2 separate regions of the Homo sapiens genome follow, and region 1 is linked to region 2. Evidence: promoter capture Hi-C in human tissues and cell types (Jung and others, 2019). All regions are on one chromosome and are shown on one strand. The core of a region is centred on a gene start or on the middle of the fragment in contact, and the rest is flanking DNA. Distances in the headings are between cores, read along the strand shown.

Evidence for each region. The method cuts DNA at HindIII sites, captures the fragments that hold promoters and counts their contacts. A contact is called where the count stands out against the background at its distance.
Region 1: a fragment that was not itself captured here is called in contact with the fragment with the promoter of SAMD4A in region 2 in 8 of the 25 tissues and cell types used here (adrenal gland, liver, lymphoblastoid cells and 5 more).

What each region holds. Positions count from the first base shown.
Region 1 is chr14:54,799,901-54,806,326 of GRCh38, forward strand. No RefSeq gene overlaps it. Among named protein-coding and RNA genes, the nearest start is that of MIR4308, 75 kb to the right of the region's middle. RefSeq lists an enhancer at 4,820-5,621. The HindIII fragment of the contact is 8,937 bases long and covers 1-6,426 here.
Region 2 is chr14:54,564,083-54,570,748 of GRCh38, forward strand. SAMD4A (sterile alpha motif domain containing 4A) reads left to right here and starts at 3,046. Exons shown (of 13, transcript NM_015589.6): 1 at 3,046-3,256; 2 at 3,414-4,030. The coding sequence starts at 3,835. RefSeq lists silencers at 1,828-1,957, 2,518-2,567, 2,688-2,877, 3,718-3,777, 4,018-4,077 and 2 more. The HindIII fragment of the contact is 16,931 bases long and covers 1-6,666 here.

The DNA of each region.
Region 1 (6,426 bases), core at 1,602-4,101, 240 kb after region 2:
CTGCATTTTGGGAAATGGATTAGAGGAGAGCGCAAGTGCAGGAGTGAGGATGCCCCAGGGGACAGATGATCCAGACAGTTCACAAGCTCAAGGGTATGGCAGCAGGGACAGAGAGAACTGGACAGATCTGTGAGATTCATAAGATGTAGCCTCTCCTATTCAACATAGTATTGGAGGTTCTGGCCAGGACAATCAGGAAAGAGAAACAAATAAAGGGCATTTAAATAGGAAGAGAGGAAATCAAACTATCCCTGTTTGTAGATGATATGATCCTGTATCTACAAAACCTCATTGTCTCAGCCCAAAAGCTTCTTAAGCTGATAAGCAACTTTAGCAAAGTCTTGGGATATAAAAGTCAATGTGCAAAAACCACTAGCATTCCTATGTACCAACAACAGTCAAGATGAGAGCCAAATCACAGATGAACTCCCATTCACAACTGCCAGAAAAAGAACACCTAGGAATACAGATAACTAGGGCGGTGAAAGATCTCTACAAGGAGAACTATAAACCACTGCTCAAAGAAATCAGAGATGACACAAACAAAAGCATTCCATACTCATAGATAGGAAGAATCAATACTGGTAAAATGGCCATACTGCCCAAAGCAATTTATAGATTCAATGTTATTCCCATTAAACTACCATTGACGTTCTTCACAGAACTATAGAAAACTATTTTAAAACATATGGAACCAAAATAGCCAAGACAATCCTAAGCAAAAGAACAAAGCTGAAGACATCACATTACCCAACTTCAAACTATACTACAGGGATACAGTAACCAAAACAGCATGGTACTGGTACAAGAACTGACACATAGACCAATGGAACAGAACAGAGAACCCAGAAATAAGACCACACACCTACAACAAGCAATGGAGAAAGGATTCCCTATTCAATAAATGGTGCTAGGATAACTGGCTAGCCATATGCAGATTGAAACTGGACGCTTTCCTTATACCACATATAAAATTAACTCTGGATGGATAAAAGACTTAAATATAAAACCCAAAACTATAAAAACCCTGGAAGACAACATAGGCAATGCCATTCAGGACATAGGCACAGGCAAAGATTTCATGGTGAAGATGCCAAAAGCAACTGCAACAAAAGCAAAAATTGCCAAATGGGATCTAATTAAAGAACTTCTGCACAGCAAAAGAAACTATCAGAGTAAACAGACAACCTACAGAATGGGAGAAAATTTCTGCAAATTCTGCATCTGACAAAGGTCTAACATCCAGCATCTGTAAGGAACTTAAACAAATTTACAAGAAAAAAAAAACATTAAAAAGTGGGCAAAGGACATGAACAGACACTTCTCAAAAGCAGACATACTATGTGACCAACAAACATATGAAAAAAAGCTCAACATCACGGATCATTACAGAAATGCCAATCAAAACCACAATGAGATACCGTCTCACACCAGTCAGAATGGTTATTATCAAAAAGTCAAAAAAAAACAAATGCTGGTGAGGTTGTGGAGAAAAAGGAGTGCTTATACACTGTTAATGGAGTGTAAATTAGTTCAACCATTGTGGAACACAGTGTGGCAATTCCTCAAAGACCTAAAGAAGAAATACCATTCAACCCAGCAATCCCATTACTGGGTATATCCTCAAAGAAATATAAATTGTTCTATCATAAAGACACATTCACGTGAAAGTTCATTGCAACACTATTCACAATAGTAAAGACATGGAATCAACCTAAATGCCCATTAATGATAGACTGGAAAAAGAAAAAATAGTACATATACACCATGGAATACTATGCAGCCATAAAAAAGAACAAGATCATGTCTTTTGCAGGAACATGGAGCTGGAGGATATTAACCTTAGCAAACTAACACAGGAACAGAAAACCAAATACCACATGTTCTCACTTATAAGTGGAAGCTAAATCATGAGAACACATGGACACATAGAAGGGAACAACACACACTGGGGCCTATCGGAGGGTGGAGGGTAGGAGGAGGGAGAGGATCGGGAAAAATAACTAATGGGTACTTGGCTTAATAACTTGATAATGAAATAATCTGTTCAACAAACCCCCATGACACACATTTACCTATGTAACAAACCTGCACCATGTACCCCTAAACTTAAAAGTTAAAAAATACAACGGACTTTGGGGACTCAGGGGAAAGGGTGGGAGGGAGGTGAGGGATAAAAGACTGCAAGTTAAATTCAGTGTGCACTGCTCGGATGATGGGTGCACCAAAATCTCACAAATCACCACTAAAGAACTTACTCATGTAACCAAACACCATCTGTTCCCCAAAAACCCAGGAAATAAAACATTTTAAAAATAAGAAAGCCAGATATCAACGAGAGAAAAAAAAGACGTAGCCTCATTGTGCTTGATGATGGATCAGACATGGGCTGTAGAGGAGAAACTAATGAGTCCAGGATGCCTCCCAAAGCGTCTTGCTTGGCCAGCTGAGGTGCTGGGGAAGAATTGGGCTAGGGGTAGGGACATGAAATTTGTTATGTTACATAACCCACCTCCTCATCCAGACAAAATACTGTTTTGCTAAGCTGATACATTTGTTGTTAGATTATCCCCCACTTTGCAGATGGAAAAACTGAGACTCAGAGATGTTAAGCAACTTGTCCAACATCACAGAATTGTTATGGAATGAGGCTCCACGATAAGACTCAAATCCAGGTCTGTCTACCCTAAATATTGCTAGGAGATGGCAATGGCTGGTTGTCTTAGGCTCTGGAGACCCCATATGAGCACACACAGTAAGGAGACTGTGATGAACCTCCAGGCCTTCCCTTTCCAACATCTGTTGCAGCCTGAGACACGAGGTTACTGGTAGGCAGCAGAATTCTGCAAAATGACCATCCTATTTGTTTAAATATAGCCCCTAATTGAAAGAGAAGAGCCGACATGGCTGTGGTTCTCAATCTGACTCCATATGGGAGTCACCTGGGGAGCTTTACCAACTACTGATGCCTGGAGTCCATCCTGAGAGACTCTGACTTAGTTGTTCTAGGGCATGGCCTGGGCGTGAGGTTATTAAGCTCCCAGGTGATTCTAATGGGCAGCCAAATGGGAAAACTGCACATCAAATGAAACTGCTTCTCCTAGCTTACTGGTCTATGAGGTTAAGTGCATCTGCAGCCTTGGTAGATGAGGGTAAAAGGCAGCTGCTTCCACGGACTCATTACAGAACTAAGAGCAAGCACCTGATCCACCCTGTTCCTTGGGTGCCCTACCTATGGGAATCATCTAAGCCAGGCAGCATTAGCAGTGGGGTTTCAGCACACTCCCAGTCACTTCTCAAATTTCTTCCCCATTGGCTTCAATGGTGCTTGCAATGCCTACCGCAAAGACTCAATTTTGTAAGCTATGTGTACTTTAATTAGGTTGATGAATTGTTCCCTGGGATACTGTCATGCCAGACACCTATCACCTCCAATCGGGATGGCACCAGGCTCGAGAGGCTAAAGAAGAGACCCAGAGCCAGCAAACGAGACACGGGGCTTATTGAGGGGAACTTACGGAGCAGCCCAGTGGTGGGGACTGGACAGGAGAACCACCACTTATAAGAGCATGCAGTTTATACAGCGTTCTCACTTAACACCCTCCCCCTAGCAACCATCACCTGGCAACCTTCGTTTAACCCAAAACAAAGGGCCTCAATACTCTGTATGACCCACATTTTATGGGACAGGGCAGGATGGGGGCTCAGATATGCCTCACAGATAAGGAATGAGTCCCCAGGTTGGCCACGCTGGAACTCTAAACACACATTCAGGTGCGTCTGCCATACAGGGTGATTCTCAGAAAATGCTTAAGTTATCGCTGTCAGGTGTGTCTGCCGTGCACAGGTGCATCTACCATACAGTTGCATAGCATTAACAGCTGAGTGATCTATTAACCAGAATTCATCAGCCTGATTATCCAGGTATCTGCCAGTATAGTTTCGGGTTGTCTGTTAATGCAGATTAGGTTACACTCCATTAACAGATACTCCCCAAAACCTCAATGCCTTAAAACCACAAAGACTGGCCTGCATGTCCATCACAGGTCATCAGGGACATCTGCTCTATATGGCTTCCTCTGGAATCCAGCTTCTGGCACAGTTGCCACCTACTGGAGTACTGATATTTGCCACAGCAGAGGGAAAAAAAGGACATGCCTTCCACTAGAAGTGAAATGTGTCACTTCCGCTCACACTTCGTCAGCCGAAGCCAGTCACATGGCCACATCTAACTTCAGTGGAGCTGGGAAGCACAATCCTACCCTGCCATGAAGGACTCACAGACAGGGCTGGACCACAGCACTAATATCTCCCACCCGGTCACCGCATGCTGCCTCCCAGCAGAGCACAAACGAATGTTCAAGACGGCTAAGGTCTTGGGGTCCCCATCCGGCCAATGTCCCTCCCCACTTTTGAGGAATGTGAGCCTGTTACAAAGACAAACCCTGGTCACTTTACCTGGGTTTGCTGCTTCTCTTCAGGACCTCAAAGTCTGGAGGAGCTTAAAGTGGCGTCATCAGACGAGGTCATGTCCTGGGTGGCTGGGTGACCTCCTGTTACGCTCCCAGTGTGCTGCAGGATCACTAGGGTCCCAGGGCCAGGCCCAGCCGCGCATTCATCAAACTCTCCTTCTCTGTTAGCTCCCACCCGACTCTGAGCGGGCCAATTTCTTTCATCATCCACCTCCAGCTGGGCTGCAACCTGTGGATCACTCCTGGTTCAAAGACTCAGAAGCAGGGAAATGTAATGCTCTGAAAGGTGCTTTCACGCACAGCGGCTCTCGCCTTCAGGGGATGTTTGAGGCTGCTCTGACTCAGTCTCCCATTCAAAGGCTGGGTTCAGTGGAGAGCCCGCAGGAAGCTAACAAACCGGACTGTCTGAGGGACTGACTCAAAAAAATAAAAAGAAATAGATGATAGAGTAGCAGAAGTGCCTGCAGCGGCCTCCCGCCCGCGATGTGCCAGGAGTGAGGCAGCTTCTGCTCCACCCTCCCTGCTGCCAGCGTAGCCGAATGGGCTGAGGACGCCCCTCTCCTGGCCCTGCCTCCGCGGTCTCACTGCACCTGTATGGAAAGGTGTTGGGCCCTGGCTCCTCAACAGAAAAGACCCTCCCCCACATCCTGCTTTGCCACTCCTGCAGCCTTCGTTTTTAATATTTATACTGAACGGAGCATTCCTTGCCCAGGAGGCTGGGGAAGAACCTCAAAACTGGAAGCAAGGGCTCGTTTTGAAATCTGTCTTCCTTCACGTTTAAAACAGGCAGCTCTCCCATCTGGGTATCTTGAAAATGTGTTGCAAGCCTGAATGCTCCGGCTTCAAATCCCTGGGGCTCTGAAGCCCAAGCCTGCCTTTCCTCCACTCACTTCCCAGCTCTGCCACTTACCAGCTCAGCTATGTGTCCTTGGGTGCATTACTTTGCCTCTCCGTGCCTCCATTTCTCCATCTGTGCAATAGGGGTGCTACCCAGTGGCGCGTTGTGGAGGGTTAAGTGAGTTGATGTATGCACAGCACCTGGAACAGAGCCTGATACATAGGCTGTGCTCTTGAGTGTTAGCCGCGAGTATTGTCATGGTGATTACAATCCTCAAGCACTGTCCATTCCCTACCTCGTCAGCCGATGACAGGAGTTATTAGCTACAAAGTCTTCACTCAGGCCATTCCCAGCACTCTCCCCAGCCTGGAAGCACCCACAAAATCAGGTATCCTGTAGACAGACTGTTCTCCATTCCCCTTGGGACCCACAGCCCTTGCTGTAGCACCCAGTATGAAGGCTGGATCCAAGACTCGGGAGCCATGAGCAACACAGGGGCTGCTGAGAGAAGATGTCCTCTAGCCACACCACACACCCTGATATGTACACGTGCACACCACACACTCATCCCCAGGGTGGTTATGCCAGTTGTGCAGCACTTTTGGTGACTACAAATCCCTCTAGCCCTAAGAGGAACCAATTAAGCAATGTATTTAGTGGCCTTAGCAAGGAGGGAAAGAGTCACCTTAAACATTTTTCCCCGGCGAATCTGACACATTTTGGCAGCCCAGGAGGTTCCAGAAGGGAAAGGGGAAGCCATGCGCAGCTGGCGCCCTCTGGTGGTCAGTGTCTTCCCACTCAGCGCTTGTTCTGGGGAGGCGGCACCAGAACAGCCCTATTCAAATCAACATAAGTCCCTATGCCCCGGGTCACATGCGGTGGAAGGAACCAGGATGAGAAGGATGCCATCCTGGCCCTCGAGGTGCTCATAGTCTCTCAAATCACTGTGTCTTCTAGCCTGGGATTGTTCTCCCGCCCTGGTATCATGACGTTAGTAAGTCGCGCTCATGGAGCTCCGACTGCTGAATCCCCGCTAAGTCCACGTCCTGCGCAAGGCACTTAGTATCCACTAGCTGTCACCTTTACAGCAACACTGTGCCTTCATCTTATCTGGTT
Region 2 (6,666 bases), core at 1,796-4,295:
AACTTTATATGTCTTAGAGTGTCCTGAACAGTAAGAATTCAAAAATGAGATAAATCAATGTCTTTTCCTAGGTCAAAGGCTGGTGTAAGAACTACACTTTTCCAGTAGATGGCAGTATTTTCATTCACCAGCTTAAGTTTTGTTTTTTTTTTTTGTTGTTTTGTTTTTAGTTTTACTATACCTTTAGTAAGCTGCAGGTGAAAATACATGTTAATGAAATTTCTGGTTTTTTCACTTTCTTTTAAAAAAAATTCACTCTTGGGAGCTTCCAAAAGCCCTAGAACGACATCTGCTTTGCCTACAATTTATAGCAAGGTATATACCGAAGTAGACCATACTCTCTAATCCTCCCTATTTCCTGATATAAGTTATTACTAAGAATTAGCTAATTCATAGTAATCTCTTGGAGAAAATCTATCAAGCCTTTCTGCCTCTACAGTAACAAAACAAAACAAAAATAAAACACTGACTTCAGGTTTCCTGTTTTCTAAATAGGGCAAAATATTCATTAAATTAAGCGGATACCTCACCTGTCTGGTTAATAATTAACTTTTAAAAAATCCACATTTTTGCAGCTCGACCTCGACAAGACCTTTCAAAAACCCTAACAGATGGTTAGGTGCTATCACGTGTCTGAAACGAACTATACGCTGCAGAAACTAAATTTGAGGAGGAAGGGAAGAAAGCATTTAAATTCCAGGGACATATGCCGGAGTTGGAAAACAAAAGTGTTAATTAGTGGAATAATATCTCAGATACTTTCTCTTCAAAACAGTGGATTAGCAGGAGTAGGAAAGGCTGGGTCTGAAACACGCGTTTCACTGCCTTCTCAGAATTACTCCCGTATAAACAAAGCCTCAAGTTGCTGGAGGGAGCAGTGTTTCCTCTGAAATCACGGAGATAGCCCAGATTTAGTCATCCAGTCCTTCTTGCGAATATTCAACCCATATCAGGAGGTACAGAGGTTTTTAGGGTTTAGGGTATTTTTAACCAAACCTTTACTTTCAAGACTAGCAGAGGCACTTTCGCAGCCCACCCTGCGCCACTCAGCCTCTGCGCTGCGCCCTCCTCGCCTCTCGCGCGGCAAGGACCTGAAGCCCCGGTGTGGCCGCGGCCCTGCGCACTCTCCAGATCCAGGTGAAGGTTGCGAGGCCTGGCGACGCCTAAGCGCTGACAGGTGGCCTCGCCCCGCCTCTTTGTCGCCCAGGGCGGCGCTCGCCTCCGCTCCAGGCCAGAAGCCGCAGCCCGCGCGCCAGGCACAGCTCCCCCGACCGGTCTCAGGAGTTCGGCCACCTCCCCGGGGAAGAGTGGGACTCAGCCAGGCGCCGGGCCGGCCTCTAGGAGCCTGCGCCAGAGCAAAGGGCATCCGGCACCCGACCCGGGCCAGGCCCTTGGACTAGGGCGGCACGGAACCTAGCGCCTGGGCAGGTCCAACCCTGCGCACTGCCCCTCAGCCTCGTGAACCCTTCGCCTCCACGACCCCCGGAACCCATCCCAGCAAGTGCGGCAGTGACCTCGGGTCTCACCGCCCGGGGGCCAAACACCTCGGCCACCCCGGGGCCCCAGAAGGGCCGAGGGTCAGCCGAGCGGACGAACCACATTCCCAAGGACAAGCAGCGGGTGGCAGCACCGCCCCCGCCCGAGCGCCCTCGGGTCCCTTTCTGCCGGGGCTCCAGTGGCTTGAGTGTCCCGACCCCTCCAGAACACGCAGGCGGCCGCAGGAAGAAATTCACCCGGACCCGTCCTCTTCCCCGAACTTCTTCGTTCCTCTCGGAGGTTCCTTCTACCCGACCCCTCTGCGCCACCAGCTCCTCCCACTCCGCTCCCCTCCCCTTTTTCTGGTCCCCACTTAGGAATCCGTCCCCCCGCCCTGCGCCGGGTCCGGGGTTCCTCCCCCCGGCTCCCCCCGCGTGCCGTCGCCGCCGCCCGGGTTCCTCTCCCCCCGCTCGGGCGCTCCCTGCCAAGCCCATGATGTAATGGTGTATGTTAATCAGTAGCATGTGGGGAGCTCCGGCTCGGGCGGCTCAGTCCTCCGCGAGCCGACACTGGAGGCAGCAGCAGCGGCGGCTGCAGCGGCCCCGACTCGAAGCACCGCACTCTCCCCGCGCCGCCCGCCCCGACGGCATGGCCCGCGGCCGGCGCTCCGGGCGCCCCCAACCCCGCTGAGAGCCGCCGCGGCCCCGGACCCGCGCAAGGGCCCCCGAGCCGCCGGGATGAGCCGCGCCGAGGTGAGCGCTCCCTCCCTACGGCCCTCGGCGGGGGACCCGCGGGTCACTGGGGGTCCCCTCCCCGGGGGCTTCCCCCTCCGCCCGAGAAGTTCTGGGAGCCGGAAGCAGCGTGTTGTTGGAAGCTAGCGGCTCCTTGAAGGCTGAGTCGCTGGGTTCTCCTCCCCGCCGGCGGCGGCCACGAGAACCGGGATGGGACTGGGGGAACCCCCGCAGCCGAACTTTCTTTGCTGTCGTTGGGGGGCGTGTGCCTGCGGCGCCGATCCGCATTCCCCGCGGGGCCGCCCCGCTGGCCGAAGGGAGCAGCGCTGCGGACCCCGGCCGTCCCCTCGCGGGGCGTGTGCCCAGCGCTGTGCCGCCCTCGGCCTGCGACGCGCGGGCGAGGCTCCGGGCCGGACAGACCAGCCCGTAGGCGGCGGCGGCAGGATGCCTGCCACACACGCGCGCACACACACACGCACACGCGCGCGCACAGTGACCGCTCCGGCCGGAGCAGGCCCAGGGAGACCTCCCGGGTGGGCTGGTGCGGCGCGGCGCGGGGGAGCCGGGGCTCTGGGTTGCGCCGCCGCCCGCTGGGCGCGGAGCTTTGGGTGGAGAGAGTTTATTTTTGTCTCGAGCTGCTGCCGCGGCTGCTCACGGCCTAAATCCAGAGGGGCGCCTGGCGGTGGAGATGCTGGCTGTTGCTGTAGATGGAGCTGCAGCCGCTCGGCTGCTTCTCTGGGAGGAGGAGGAGGAGTAAGAGGAGGAGGAAGGAACTCGGGCTGCCGCTGCCTCCGCCTCTGCTTTGCATTAGCTCCCACCCCCACCCCCGCGCCCCTTCGCAGCCGCATTGCAAGTTTTCTGCGCGGGGAAGATCTGTTGCTGGTGCTGGCGTTCTTAAGCACGGCGCCCGAGGCCACCCCAGGCGGGCCGTGAGGGGAGCACCAGCCGTTGGCAGCGGCAGCAACAGGAAGCCGCGGGGTCTCCTCCCGCACCTGGGAAGCAGGCTTCTCGCTGTTACCCGGTGGGGAATAGCCCATCTCCCACATCGGGTGCGGAGGGGGCGGAGGGGGCGGCTGGATTTCGGCGAACCCAACCTTCCGCGGGACGCCCCCTCCCCTGGCCCCAGCACCCTCTGATGCCCTCGTCCCCCCAGGGCGCGCTCCTCCGCTAGCCGAGGTCTCACTGCAGCTCTTTCTCTCCTTCCAGTGGTGATCGCCGCTCGGGAATGCGGGCGTGAAGGGTCCGAGTTGCCGCCCAGCGGGGAGGAGACCCCAGGACGCCGGAAATCACCATCCCAAAGCTGCAAGAAGGGGGGAGAAAGCATTCTTCATTCAGTTGTGTGCCTTGTGGGGGATTTTTAAAAAGTCGTTTTTTTTTTTAAAGAAACATTTCCGTGCTACTGTCTGTCATCGTCTCTGGGGAAATCAGCCAGAACCACCGGAACGTAACTGAAACCAGACAAGAGAGGCAGGAGCCCAGGCAGTACCTGCAGCGTCCGGGCACCAGAGCCACCTTGGAACAGGAACGCGTCTCCGGCCGCGGGGCTGCGGCTCCGCCAAACTTTGGGGCGGGCGGGGCGGGCTGGGGCGCCCAGGGGGCTCTGTAGACCGAGGGCGGCCCCCTAACCATGATGTTTCGCGACCAGGTCGGGGTGCTGGCGGGCTGGTTTAAGGGCTGGAACGAGTGCGAGCAGACTGTTGCGCTGCTGTCGCTGCTCAAGCGCGTGAGCCAGACCCAGGCCCGCTTCCTCCAGCTCTGCCTGGAGCACTCGCTGGCCGACTGCGCCGAGCTGCACGTCCTCGAACGCGAGGCCAACAGCCCCGGTAAGTGTGCGGCGGCCGCCGCCGCCGTCCCGCCTGCCCAACCCCCGCTCCTCCCTCCGCTTCTCTGCCTCGGGCCAGGCCGAGGCCAGTCCCTGCCAGCCGCGCCGGGACCTGGACGGCGTGGCCCCGAGGCCCTCGGAATCCACCCCCTCCGGGTGTCCCCCCACTACCGCCCCCCACCTACTTACCTCCGCCGGCCGCTTTGGGATTTTGCCCACTGTGAACTCCGTCAGCCCTTTCCGTGTGGTAGCTACGGTAGCATGAATGATTGATTTTTCTCTCATGCAGTTTCCTGGGAAATAAGTAAGTCAGGTCACGTAGAGTCTGGATTTTCTGGGTGTGTGTGTTTTTTCCTTCCTCCTCCTTCTTTTGGGCAACGTGGCTCGCTGGATTTCAGCAACACATGATAGATGCCCGGGACTGCCCTTCAGAAGCCAAGCTTGGATAAGGCTGTGTGAGGAGTACATGAAAATCCAATTTTATTATTCATTTTTCCCCACAGATATTCTGGTTTTAGAGCTTCGTCTTCAGAATAATATGCAGGTGACGCTAGAGACTAGTAAAATGACATTTGCAGCATATATATATATATATATATATATATATATATATATATATATATATATATAATGCGGTTAAGCTTACTGCTCGTGACATTATCCATATTGATACGGATCTTGTAGAAAAAAAGGGTCTTGGAGAAAGGACAGGCATGAAGTGGGTTACTTAATGCTTTTCGTTAGGAAACTTTACTGAATAGAACAGAATCGTTTCATATTACCCTGCTAGTATTTACAGACACCTCAACTAGTATGGAAAGTGAATATAGTCGAAAGGTCCAGCAGTTTCCTATTTGCTAGCGTGGGTGGTGACAGACTGAAATTATATCCTGGAGGGTAGGAGGAGGCTGGGGGATGGGGGGAAAGTCTGATGGTTGTGATTTTGGATAGGGGGAAATTCTTTAGTTCATGCTGCTGCAGGAGGGTGAACAGAGTCCCCAGTGTTTATGCAGAGAAAAGAATGCAGGGTCCTCTTCCAGCTGTTCCATGTTGGAGCTGCGAGCCTGCAAAGCTCAGCAGAGGTCTGGGCTGCCATTTGATGACAAGGTCCAGTCCAGGGCAGTGGGGCCTGGGAGACACTAAAGTGAGTGTGCCTTCAGAGCAGCAAGAAGCGAGCCGGCCTACTCATTCCTCCTCCCTAGTATGGTGTGCACGATGGTGAAAACACTAGAATGGGATGCTTCCATATATAGAATCATAGGGTGGAAGTGACCGCTGGAAATCTTCACAGTTCTTTTCCTGACCAGACAGGACTGCACCCGAAAGATCCTGCATGGCCAAGTATGGAGGGCCACATTGAGGGAGATTCCATTGAGCCCGAGCCTCCCAGCTCACACCAGGACTCACTGGGGTGGCGATGACAGGGCCCCCTTTGGTTGAGCTCCACGTTTATAAATAGCTGGAGGGCCAGCCTCCTTCACTGGGGTGTGGAAGCATAATTGGGTAACTGATGATCCACCCTCTTTGCTTCCTTCCTTAATTTCAGCGGGAAGCCTGGTTTACCTGCTCGGTTTTACTTTCTCAGGTTTGACAAACAAGGTTATATAAACTTTTGCATTTTATAGATTGCAGAGGATTTACGCAGAGTCATTTAGGTTGAATGCTTGATTTCAGTGCTGGTAGGGACTGTTCAAACTCATCTTTAGGTTATTCAAATGTTGGAGCAGCACTTTTTCCCTTTGAGTAATGGAGATGACTTTTCCCAATAGAGCAGCCACCAGGTTAGTAAGTAAAACAGTTAAATGTTAAAATAAGGTGGCCTAATTTTAAAAATCTCATAATTTAAAAAATTGAACTGTGAATTTTTTGAAGTCACTTGGCATTTTTTTTCCCTTAAGACATGTTTGGCCATACTTATTTGTATAAGATACCCACCTGTTCATGCTGCTAAATGATGTAGATATACAAAATATAGAACCATTGTGTAAGATAGGAACTGGTCTCCAGTTTCTGGATTAATCCTTCGCCTAGACGTTTTGCCTGCATGGAAATCTTTGCAGTTGTTTTGTTGTGTGGCCAGGACAGAAATTTCTTAGGAGGTCATGTGATGATTTGGTTTACTTTCGGAGTGTGGGGATCATAAAGAGCATCAGGAGTTGTCATAGCATACCTGAGTCTGTAGTGTGGCTCTCTGCATATCCGGAAACTAGCCAAGAACCAGGAAGGGGGCAAAAAGTCCACTTCGCAACCAGAGTAGATAGCATGAAAGTCCAAGAGAATATTTCAGGCCCTCTCTCAGAATGTACTTGCTCTTATTCTAGACACAATCCTAACATTTAAAAAATTTGACAAATAATCCGTAGTGTATTGGGGGTAACACATTTAGAATGGGGTGAGGGACTGCTGTAATCAGTAGTAAAAAGTGACCCCTGACAGCCTGACAACTTGGAAAGAGACAGAAAAACTGTAACTTTAGACAAGAATTGGGGCAGAAACTTTGAAGGCTTGGGAATATTAGGGTGGGAACCCTCAATTGACCTTGTAGGCACCACTCTATAATAACATAAACAAATAATTGCTATTTACTGTTGTTAACGGTGAACTATGGAAATAATACATTTTTAGATACACTCTTTA